Regions from separate parts of the Homo sapiens genome. Here all the other regions are linked to region 2. Evidence: promoter capture Hi-C in 16 types of primary human blood cells and fetal thymus (Javierre and others, 2016). All regions are on one chromosome and are shown on one strand. The core of a region is centred on a gene start or on the middle of the fragment in contact, and the rest is flanking DNA. Distances in the headings are between cores, read along the strand shown.

What was found. Contacts are between HindIII fragments. The CHiCAGO score rates a contact against its expected background, and 5 or more counts as called.
Region 1: a contact is called between a fragment that was not itself captured here and the fragment with the promoter of CENPM in region 2, in 8 of 17 cell types (erythroblasts, M1 macrophages, M0 macrophages and 5 more). The highest score is 7.2, in erythroblasts.
Region 3: a contact is called between a fragment that was not itself captured here and the fragment with the promoter of CENPM in region 2, in 9 of 17 cell types (naive CD8 T cells, endothelial precursors, M0 macrophages and 6 more). The highest score is 7.6, in naive CD8 T cells.

Annotation. Positions count from the first base shown.
Region 1 is chr22:41,725,164-41,728,829 of GRCh38, reverse strand. The region is part of intron 7 of MEI1 (meiotic double-stranded break formation protein 1); the gene reads right to left. Among named protein-coding and RNA genes, the nearest start is that of MEI1, 27 kb to the right of the region's middle. The HindIII fragment of the contact is 794 bases long and covers 1,670-2,463 here.
Region 2 is chr22:41,944,535-41,948,647 of GRCh38, reverse strand. CENPM (centromere protein M) reads left to right here and starts at 1,496. Exons shown (of 6, transcript NM_024053.5): 1 at 1,496-1,628; 2 at 2,152-2,231; 3 at 2,643-2,735; 4 at 3,344-3,423. The coding sequence starts at 1,572. It also overlaps a transcript of SMIM45 not described here. RefSeq lists an enhancer at 1,483-1,692. The HindIII fragment of the contact is 15,549 bases long and covers 1-4,113 here.
Region 3 is chr22:41,705,793-41,709,757 of GRCh38, reverse strand. All of the region lies in intron 3 of MEI1 (meiotic double-stranded break formation protein 1), which reads right to left. It also overlaps the pseudogene HMGN2P10. Among named protein-coding and RNA genes, the nearest start is that of MEI1, 8.3 kb to the right of the region's middle. The HindIII fragment of the contact is 6,441 bases long and covers 1-3,965 here.

The DNA of each region.
Region 1 (3,666 bases), core at 817-3,316, 220 kb after region 2:
TAGTGCAGCCGTGTGAACATGACTCACTGCAGCCTCAACTTCTCCAACGTAAGCAATCCTCCTGCCTCAGCCCCTCAAGTAGCTGGGACTACAGGCATGCACCACCACCCTGGCTAATTTTTATTTTTATAGAGACAGGGTTTCACCATGTTGCCCAGACTGGTCTCAAATTCCTGAGCTTAAGCCATCCACCTGCCTTGGCCTCCCCAAATGCTGGGATTACAGCATGAGCCACCATGCTCAGCCCCAGCTCATTTTAAAATTTTTTATAGAGACAAGGTCTCAGTATATGGCCCATTCTGGGCTCAAGTGATCCTCCCACCTTGGCCTCCCTAAATGCTGGGATTACAGGCATGAGCCACTGTGCCCAGCTGGCCCTCATCTGGCTTTGATGTTTGCAACAATTCTGTGACATAACAAGGGAAGGTTCTACTATAAACCTCAATTTATTGAGTGCACAGAAAAGATTTAACACAGTAGGCCTGAGGCTATTATACTTAGAAAACCCTCTCTGCAAGGCTGGCTCTTGGCTGGGTTTGGGAACTTGGATTTCAGGAGGGTTCCTAACGGAACTGAGAGAGTGGCTCACTGTGACTAAACTATGTGTACAATGAACAGTTGACCCTTGAACAACACAGGCTTGAACTGTGTGGTTCTACTTATATGTGGCCTTTTTTCAACTGAACGCTGATGGAAAATGCAGTATTCACTAGATGTGAAACTGGCATATGAACAGGGCCAACTTACTGGAGTTTGCCAGGGCTGACTGTAGGACTTGAGTATATGTGGGTCTGGGTATATGCCGGCGGTCCTGGAACCAATCTCCCGTGTATACAAGGGACAACTGTAGTTTATGCTGAATACCTGTTTTCCTTCTGGGAGTCTGGAATTTTGGTACATGCTCAGCAGAGGATACCTACGTGAACGGCCAGTCCCCCATAAAAACCTGGGGTACTGACACTCCGATGAGCTTCCTCAGTAGGTAAGGTTTCACATGTCACAGTTCATTCCTGGGGAAATTAAGAAGTGCATCCCATGTGACTCCACTGAGACAGGACTCTGGAAGCTTGTGTTGGTTCCACCAGACTTCGCCCCATGCACCTTTCCTTTTGCTGATACTGCTTTCCTTACACTGCCGTAAATCGTAGCTATGAGTATGACTATACGTTGAGTCCTATGAGTCCTCCTAGCAAATCATCAAACCTAGGGGTAGTCTTTGGGAACCTTTAGCAAGGTTAGGTTACTTACTCTAGGCTACACAGCTGATAAGTGGCAAAGCTAAGGCACAAACTCAGGTCAGCCAAGTCCAAATCTAGGAGTCTACCCACAACTGTGATGCCTCCCCCATCAGAATTTTTAGATCAGGCATATTTGCTACTCCAAACATCTCAGTGAATTTCCATTGCACTCTGAATAATATCCAAACTCCTACTCGTCACCATAGCTATTAGGGATGCCTCTAACACTTTCAGAAATCAAGAAAAGCGTTAACTGCAACCACAGATTTTAAGTATCATAGAAGCTGATTTTGGGGGAGAAAAATGCCAAACAGAATATACATCACCAGAAGAATGGAGGGCATACCTGGTTTTACAGCTTTTAAGAAAAAGGACCAAGTAGACATGAGACTACTAATGTCTGGTAAAGATACATCTGAGGACTGCAAGCTTAACCCCATCTCAGCCATATTGGACTTACAAGTGGACACATAAACAGCCTTCCTACTTGTCAGACTTATCAGGAAAAGAAAAAAAAAAGCCAGATTTTCTGATAGTATATAAAGGAGTTTAGAAATTAGGGAGGCTGAGGCGGGTGGATCACGAGGTCAGGAGATCGAGACCATGCTGGCTAACACGGTGAAACTCCATCTCTACTAAAAATACAAAAAATTAGCTGGGTGTGGTGGCGGGCGCCTGTAGTCCCAGCTACTCGGGAGGCTGAGGCAGGGGAATGGCATGAATCCGGGAGGTGGAGCTTGCAGTGAGCCAAGATATCGCCACTGCACTCCAGCCTGGGCGACAGAGCGAGACTCCATCTCAAAAAAAAAAAAAGAAATTAATCTTTATCTTGTTCTCTTTTATAAAAGAAATGACATATTGTATCTTAAGATGCTATTGATGTAACGCAAGCCATTATTTTATGTACCACTAAGAAAGAAAAAGTGCTCCCAATTAAACTATGATGCACCATTGATGGTAAAATGTCTCCCAATTTCAGAGCTGTTAAAATGTGAAAAAATGTATCTCAGAATCAAAGAAATATGATATGTATCCATTAAAACAATGATTCTTGGTTTAAAATAAATATTCTTTTTTGAAGTTTAATTGGTTAAATTTCATTACACTTCAGTTTTGTGATTTGATAACACATTTTTAGTTTCCCTGTTGTTGTTTAAGTACATATGTTTGAAAATGGCAACAGTAACTGCTTTTAAGTTACTGCTTTTAAGTTAAGTTTTAAGCTTAAAACTACACTAAAACTTATGGAATACGTGTATGATTCCTAAGTCAGAAACCTGATCCTAGCTCATTACACTTGATGACCGACATTTAAACTCTGAAATGGACTAAACTATTTTCTTTAGAAGTCAGTTCTTTTCTTTTCTTGCTGTAGTCTCAGGACAAACTTTTCTTGCTATATTCTCCTGCCTCAGCCTCCCAAATAGCTGGGATTACAGGTGTGTGCCACCACGCCTGGCTAATTTTTGTATTTTTAGTAGAGATAGAGTTTCACCATGTTGACCAGGCTGGTCTCGAACTCCTGACCTCGTGATCCACCCGTCCCGGTCTCCCAAAGTGCTGGGATTACAGGCATGAGCCACTGCACCCGGCCTCCCTTCTCACTTCTAACCAGAGCTCCTCCTCCTCTTCCTTGCTGCAGAAAGAGCCCCAGAGTTTGGGCAATCAACCCCTGCTATCACATCAGGGTTTGCAGCTCTGCCAGCCCCCGTGCCGAGCACTGGGGAAAGATGCCAGACTCAGGTTTTGCCCTGAAAGAGCTCCCAGCCAGTCAACCACAATATGGTATGAGGTAAGCACGGTGACAGTGGGTCACATTCCGCCTAAAGGAGCCAGGGTGACAGGGGAGCCCTATAGGCTTGAAGGCTGACTCATATCAGCAGATAAAGAGAGGAGAAATGCCCTATAGGCAGAGGAAGAGCAACTGCACAGGCAGTGAGACAGGATGACCTAGCATATGCAGGACCAGGGAAAGACTGCATGTGGCTGGAGCACTGGGTTGTGGGGTGGAAGAGACAGGAAAGTGAGGCTGAAGGATATCCAGATAAAGAAGGTTCTCAGTACCAAGCTCAGAATCTGATCCCTAAAGCAACTGAGGTGACTTTGTTTCTATTGCTGTAAGTATTCTCCATTTTCAGGCAGCCCAAATGTGAAGGGGAAGTGCAGAGGTAAGAATTTACGGCTGGGCCTGGGGGCTCATGCCTGTAATCCCAGCATTTTGGGAGGCCGAGGCAGGCGGATCACAAGGTCAGCAGTTTGAGACCAGCCTGGCCAGCATGGTGAAGCCCCGTCTCTTCTAAAAATGCAAAAAATTAGCCGGGCATGGTGGCTTGGCGCCTGTAATCCCAACTACTCAGGAGGCTGAGGCAGGAGAATTGCTTGAGCCTGGGGGGCGGAGGTTGTAGTGAGCCAAGATCACGCCACTGCA
Region 2 (4,113 bases), core at 247-2,746:
GGCGTTCAGCTTACTTTATTTTCTTGTCATAGTGCCTACTACTGCTTGACTTTCAGGAAGTCCTCTCCACACCCCATGCCATGAGGAATGAAAGCCGTATCTGTGCTGAGGGCAGTGGCTCTATGGGGCCATTTACGTCCTGATCTTTCTGAGCAAGACACAGTTAGTTTAGTCTGCAGTAAGAAGGATTTAGGCTAGACAGTGTCTCTGCTCTCCCAGTTATTACAACAATGAACACACTGTTATCATTGTCTATCCCACCCCCATCAAACTAAGTTAATCAATAATGTCTGATTCAACTGACTTCCTAGGGTAGGGCATTGGGTCTGGGCATAGGAAATGATGAATGAATGACTGCTGAGAATGAATGGATGAATGTAATCCATCCATTCACTCAACAAATATTTATTAACTACGATGTACCAGGGACTTTTAGAGTGCTGGACATACAAAGTGACAAAGTCTCTAACCTCTTGTTTCTTACATTTTAGATGTAGAGACAGTGAACAAGTTATTATATAACTGTTGGCAGAACCAGTTTGCTATGGGCCCTGAGCGTCCCTGCATGTTCTTGCTGGGTATGTCAAGAAAGCAAGACCCTGACAGCTCTGTACTCAGGCTGTGTTTGCAGCAAGGAACCTTGAAAGATGAGGTAAAGTCTCCCATTGGACAAAGAACAGCATGCTTACCACTCACTGTAAAAGCAGTCAATTGGCAGGGCCTGCTGGTGTGCAGCGGTAGTCCCAGCTACTCAGGAGGCTGAAGCAGGAGGGCTGCTTGAGGCCAGGAGTTTACGACCCACCTGGGCAACATGGCCAGATCCCCATGGTGGCACTTGCCTGTAGTTCCAGCTACTCAGGAGGCTAAGCCAGGAAGATGACTTGAGCCCAGGAGTTTGAAGCTGTAGTGAGCTATGATCGTGTCACTATAGTCCAGCCTGGGCAACAAAGTGACGCTCCAAAAAAAAAAAAAAAAAAAGGGCCAGGCACGGTGGCTCACGTCTGTAATCTCAGCACTCACTTTGGGAGGCCGAGGCGGGATCACTTGAGGCCAGGAGTTTGAGACCGGCCTGGGCAACTTGGAGAAACCCCGTCTCTACTAAAAATAAAAAAATAAGTCGGGCGTGGTGACGCGCGCCCGTAGTCCCAGCTCCTTGGGAGGCTGAGGCAGGAGAATCGCTTAAACTCGGGAGGCAGAAGTTGCAGTGAGCCGAGATTGCGCGCATTGCACTCCAGCCTGGGCCACAAAGCGAGACTCTGTCTCAAAAAAAAAAAAAAAAAGTACTGTGTATGAGCATGAATGAATGAAAGTGAACAAAGGAATCACTAAAAACCTGCTTACTGTGGAGCGTGGAACCAAAGGCCTGTCCACCACGTGTTCCACGGGTAGCGCTGGAACGCCCCTCAGAAAAGGAGATAAAGGTTCGGTTCCTTTAAGAGGCCCCGTCCCGTCCCGCGAAGCCCCGCCTATAAGGAGGCACGTGCCCCCAGGCCGCGCTCTAGGGGCTGGACTCAGGGCGGTTTGAAAGATCGGCGCGCACCGCAGGAGCAACGGTTGGTCCTGCGGCTGTGATGTCGGTGTTGAGGCCCCTGGACAAGCTGCCCGGCCTGAACACGGCCACCATCTTGGTAGGTGCAGGCGGCCCTGCTTCCCCCGCCGGTTTTTCCTCCTGGGCGGTGCTTCAGCCACTAGGTCAACTGAGCTCTCTGAGGCGCCAAGCCAGCGCGCGCTACCGTGGCGGGGGCGGGGAATAGGCGGAGAGCCATGCTCTGAACCAATTGGAGTAGCCGCTCTCTGAGGTTGAGGGACGCACCCACCAATAGGTGCTCGGCGGACCCTTTCCCAGCTTCTGATTGGCGAGTTCCCGCGCCTGGAATTGGTTTTCCCGCGTCTGGGGGTCTGGCCTCCTGGAGAGGCCGGCGGTGGGAGCGAGGGTCGGGTAGTAGAGAGTGCGGTGCCCACAGGCCTGCAGCGGGTCCAAACCTCAGGCCCCCAGCCCGTGCCGCTTCGCGGGGTCCACTTCTCGGGAAATGTCCTCCGAGCCGCCTGCTGGCGGTGTCCCGATCCCCCCGGGAGTGGGTCGAAGGGCCAGGCCCTCCCCAGGGGGTGCTGTGCCTAGGGCTCGACTGTCCGCTCTCTCTCCCTGCGCAGCTGGTGGGCACGGAGGATGCTCTTCTGCAGCAGCTGGCGGACTCGATGCTCAAAGAGGACTGCGCCTCCGAGCTGAAGGTGTAAGTAGCCGCGGCTGTGGCCTGGGCCCACGTGTCTCTCACTCCAGAGGGATTCGGTCCTAGCTGCTAAACTCCGAAGCCCAGCGCCCCCTCCTCTGAGGCTGGTCCTTCTCCCAGCATGCAGCGTAGCTGGCTAGTCCCATGCCGTCTTATATCCCAACCTCCCCTTGCCGAGGTGGTGACTAAACAGAGCCCGTTTCTGGCAGAGGGAATCAGACAGGAGTAATCTGAATAGGACCGGACCTGTCCTGCCTCTGTGCTGGCCCAAGGAGTCGTGGCCACAAGAGCCTCGGGTGGCTAGGATGAGGTGGGGAGCCCTTGACGGCCTCTTTCCACATGAAGGGCAGCATTTAAACGGTCGCTATGAGGGGGGTACGGATATCTTGAGTCCTGCAATTTCCTGTTTTTCAGCCACTTGGCAAAGTCCCTCCCTTTGCCCTCCAGTGTGAATCGGCCCCGAATTGACCTGATCGTGTTTGTGGTTAATCTTCACAGCAAATACAGGTGAGAGCCAGAGGAAGGGGCAGTCAGGGCTCAGGCAGGCCTGGCTCAGGACTGTGCTGAGACGGTGACCTAACTTGTGATGGGAAGTGGTGAGGATGGGAGAGGCTGGCTGAGGTCAATCTGTAAGGTGAGGAGAGAGGAGCCAGTGGTCAGTGCACAATGTTTAAAATACACAACGGCCGGGCACAATGGCTCACACCTGTAATCCCAGCACTTTGGGAGGCCAAGGTGGGCAGATTGCCCGAGACCAGCCTGGGCAACATGGTGAAACCCCGTCTCTACTAAAATACAAAAATTAGCCAGGCGTGGTGGCATGTACCTGTAGTCCCAGCTACTCGGGAGGCTGAGGCAGGAGAATCATTTGAACCCAGGAGGCAGAGGTTGCAGTGAGCCAAGATCGCGCTACTGCACTCCAGCCTGGGCAACAAAGTGAAACTCCATCTAAAAAAAAAAAAAAAAAAAAAATTAAAGGACAAATATTTCTCCAGAGAAAGTCACCCTCTTGTCATTCTCTGGCCTCTAGGATCAGAGAAGCAAGGACTTCTGCTTTCTCCGTTGTAAAGTTTTGTTCTCTGGTTTGTTTTCTCACCCTGGCCTGGCCACCCCAGTCTCCAGAACACAGAGGAGTCCCTGCGCCATGTGGATGCCAGCTTCTTCTTGGGGAAGGTGTGTTTCCTCGCCACAGGTGGTAAGTACGTTCCTCGCCTGTTACTGCCCACCCCCAGCCAAGGGAAAGCTGGGGCGGCCGTAGGCTTCTTGCTGAGGCACCCTGGGTGATGGAAAGAGCATGTATTTTACACACACTGGGGCCTATCGGAGGGTGGAGGGCAGGAAGAAGGAGAAGATCTGGAAAAATAACTAATGGGTACTAGGCTTAATACCTGGGTGACAATGATCTGTACAACAAACCCCATGACACAAGTTTTAACTACATAACAAATCTGCACATGTACCCCTGAACTTAAAATAAAAGTTAAATTTAAAAACCGAAAGAACACATATACACATACTTTGGAATCTGACCTGTTGTCAGCCTTTCTAAGAGTGAATATGAGCAGATAACTCTGCCATTACTTGGAGTTGCCTAGTGGTTGCCTGTGGCTTTCGGTAAAATCCAAACTCTAAAGACATAAAACACTTTGCAGTTTGGCCTCTGCCTTCTGAGCTAGTCTCATCTCCGGTGACTCTCCTTCTCTGGGTCAGCTTATCGTTCTCTGAAAAAGTCCTGCTGTTCCTGAGACTTTGTAATATTAACAGTGAAAATAATAATGGCTGACATCTTTTGAGCTGTCACTGTGAGGCAGACACGGTAATTGCTTTGTTTTCATATTCCTATTGGAGGTAGGTGTTATTACCTCTGTTTTACAGTCATGAGGTT
Region 3 (3,965 bases), core at 990-3,489, 240 kb after region 2:
AATATCCAGGGGAAACTCAGTTGCCACTAACAATAATGGCAAGGAGGACTATGTCTGGAACCAGGTATTCTCTGGGGCTCTTCTTACTAGTCTCATATTCAATAGTAAAAGTTAATGAAAAACATCAGCAACCAAAAAAAAAGGAAGAGCCACTGAAGATTCAGACCTTTCAGAAGAAGAGGCGAGAACAACCCCTGGACCGACCAAAGCCCGTGTGCCGCTGCATCCCGCGCACAGCACCTACATCCCGCTGCCGTCGCTGCTGCCACCATGCCCAAGACAAAGGCTGAAGGTGATGCTAAAGGAGATAAAGCCAAGGTGAAGGACGAACCACAGAGAAGATCCACAAGGTTGTCTGCAAAATCTGCTCCTCCAAAGCCAGAGCCCAAGCCTAAAAAGGCCCCTGCAAAGAAGAGAAGGTACCCAAAGGGAAAAAGGGAAAAGTGGATGCTGGCAAGGAAGGGAATAACCCTGCAGAAAATGGAGATGCCAAGACAGACCAGGCACAGAAAGCTGAAGGTGCTGGAGATGCCAAGTGAAGTGTGTACATTTTTGGTAACTGTGTACTTCTGGTGACTGTACAGTTTGAAATACTATTTTTTATCAAGTTTTATAAAAATGCAGAATTTTTTTAAGCTATGTTGTTAGCACACAGAACACTTCACTGTTATATTTTGGGGAAGGGGCATATGTCACTAATAGAATGTCTTCACAGCTGGACTGATGTGGGGAAACATCTTTCCCTTCTAGTTGTGAGAGACTTCCTCTTGGCTCCCAGGAGGAGGGATTCCCTGACTTTGACACACGTGGCCACTTTGGCACAAAAGCCTTGTGGTATGGAAAAACAAATTCGTTTTTATGTCCTCTTCTCCCTCTCTACCTTTCAGCATAGACTTAACTCCCTTAAGACCCAGACATCTGTTGGGACCTGACCCCTAATCATTGGTTACCAGTGTGTCAGGCAATCTAGACTTTCCAGTGATGCCACTGAGATGGCATCTGTCGAAAGAACAGTGCCTCCATTTTTAGATTGTGGATCTTCAGATAAATTCTGCCATTTTCATTTCACTTCCTGAAAGTCAGGGTCGGCTTGTTTAAAGTTGTTAAACAACATGCTAAATGTGAAATGTCAACCCTCACTCTAAACTTTTCCTGTTCAGAGCATCAGATGAAGACTTCATTGGGTTTTATAGTGGCTTTCCGATTTTTGGTATCCACTGAAGACGGGAGTTTGAAAGTTGTTGTATACTGTTAACGACTGTCTGCCCATGTCCTGCCTGAAATACCATGACTGTTTATGGAAAGTATCTTTAATAAAGCTGGATACAGTTTGGCTTGGAAAAAAAAAAAAAAGATTCAGACCTTTCAGGAATGAAGGTGTGAGTCACCCTACCATGTAAAAACCCTGACCAGTTGAGACCCTCGTTGAAGGCAAAGGATACATAGAACAAACACCATTAAGAAGGAAATTATAAATATTAACTATATCGTTTTGACCAGTTATGAAAATGAAGATTGTAATATATTTCTGTAACTGTTTTCTTCTCTCTCCTTTTTTCCTTATTGTTTGTACAAGTTTTGGTGGAGGTTAGCTTTAAAATTTAGTCTTTCGGTAACAGAATATTCATATAGGACTGTGATTGAATTTAAAAATAAATTATTAACCTCCTTATGTTGGGGACAAATTGACAATGGCTTAGTCTGTATGAAGTATATGAATGAAGGATAGTTACATCTTGTTAGGTAAACAAAAAGTTGTTTTTGTTCTATGGGAGTTCAAATATGTGGAGAAGGGTGTTTGGACACCAAGTAGCCAAAGGAATGGATCAAACCAGTTATTACACTATTGTCTTTGAGCTCCAGAACCCACCCTGTAATCTGCCTTGGAAGACTAAGACTGGACTCTGCAAATCACATTTTTGCTTTGCTAGCTGAACCTCATTAAGCTCTGCCAATAATGAGCACTAGAAAGAGATGGCAAGGCTATAGGAAGAAGGGATTTGCTCCTTCCTTTTTGTTTCCTATGGGTTTCCTGTCTGCTTCCCATTCATGTAAGTCTTCCCATTCATATAAGTCTTCCCATTCATGTAAGTATCCCCTTAACACTTTTTTTTTAAGAGACAGTCTTGCTATGTTGCCCATGTTGGACTTGAACTCCTGAGCTCAAGTGATCCTCTCACCTCAATCTCCTGAGTAGCTAGGACCACAGACCCACACAATTAAGATGCCTGGCACCTTAGCACTTCTTTATCCTGGCAGTGGCAGTGCCATTCTATGACAGCAGCCGAATCCAGCCTGCAGTTTTTCCAGAACCACCTTCATTGCATCTCTCCTCCTCCAGAGACAACGGTATTATCTAGTCAGTGCCACTCAGAGGTCTGAGTTTCATAACTAGGCCCTTCCTCCAAACTTCTAAGTTTTAACAATTCCAGCCTCTTTCCTTTGTTCCCCCAGCCCCAGTGAGGGAGTTGTTTTCTATAATTGCTATCTCCATGAAAATTTGGTTGTTCTCTTTTTCTTCAGTTACCTACTTAACCAACATTATTTTTTTAATTGAGACAGGGTCTCACTGTATCACCCAAGTTGAAGTGCAGTGGCGCGATCTCAGCTCACTGCAACCTCCACCTCCCGGGTTCAAGTGATTCTCCTGCCTCTGCCTCCCAAGTAGCTGGGATTACAGGTGCCCGCCACCGCGCCCGGCTAATTTTTTTTTTTTTTTTTTTTTTTTTGGTAGAGATGGGGTTTCACCATGTTGGCCAGGCTGGTCTCGAACTCATGACTTCAAGTGATCCACAGGCCTAAGCCTCCCAAAGTGCTGGGATTACAGGCGTGAGCCACTGCGCCCGGCCTACTTAACCATTCTTTAAAGTTTTTTTCTATTCAAATAATTGGTGTGGTTTCTATTTCCTGACTGGATCCTAACTAGTACAATTCTCACTCTCTCTGCAAGAATCGTCACATACCAGGGCTCTTACCTTCTTTCTCTACAAACCCTTTATAGGTAAACCCATGCGCTTCGACAATTTTTGTTTTTTTTTTTTAAGAGAAAGGGGTCTCACTTTGTCATCCACGCTAGAGTGCAGTGGGATGATCATAGCTCACTGTCACCTCAAACTCCTGGACTCAAGGGATCCTCCCACCTCAGCCTCCCGAGTAGCTAGGACTACAGGCATGTTGTACCATGCTCAGTCCACTTCAACAGTTTTAACCACCATCTGTGTGCAGACAACTTTCAATGAACCAATACGAGATGTACTAAAAAAGAGTTTTGTATGTGCCTTTGTAACAGCACTCATCAAATCTAGTTATTTGCCTGTCAGTCAATCTCTTCTCCAGATTGTAAGCTCCTAGAGGACAGGGACCATGTCTTATCTATCTATGTATCCGTAGTGCCTGATCCAGTATCTAGCACAGAGTAAATACCCAAGGAAAAAATGTAAGGCCAGGAATGGTGACTCACGCCTATAATCCCAGCACTTTGGGAAGCCAAGCAGGAGGATTGCTTGAGAATAGCCGTTTGAGACCAGCCTAGTCAATATGGTAAGTCCCTGTCTCAACGAAAAGAAATTTTTTTAGCCAGTCATGGTAGTGCACACCTGTAGTCCCAGATACTCGGGAGGCTGAGGCGGGAAGATTGCTTGAACCCAGGAGTTCAAGGCTGCAGTGAGCTATGATTGTACCACTGCACTCCAGCCTGGGTGACAGAATGAGCCCATGTCTCAACAAAAAGAAGAGAGAGAGAAAAAGAAAGACTGGGTGCAGTGGCTCATGCCTGTAATCCCAGCACTTTGGGAGGCTGAGGCAGGCAGATCGCCTGAGGTCAGGAGCTCGAGACCAGCTTAGCCAGCATGATGAAACCCTGTCTCTACTCAAAATACAAAAATTAGCTGGGTGTGGTGGCAGATGCCTGTAATCCCAGCTACTCGGGAAGCTGAGGCAGGAGAATCGCTTGAACCCGCGAGGCA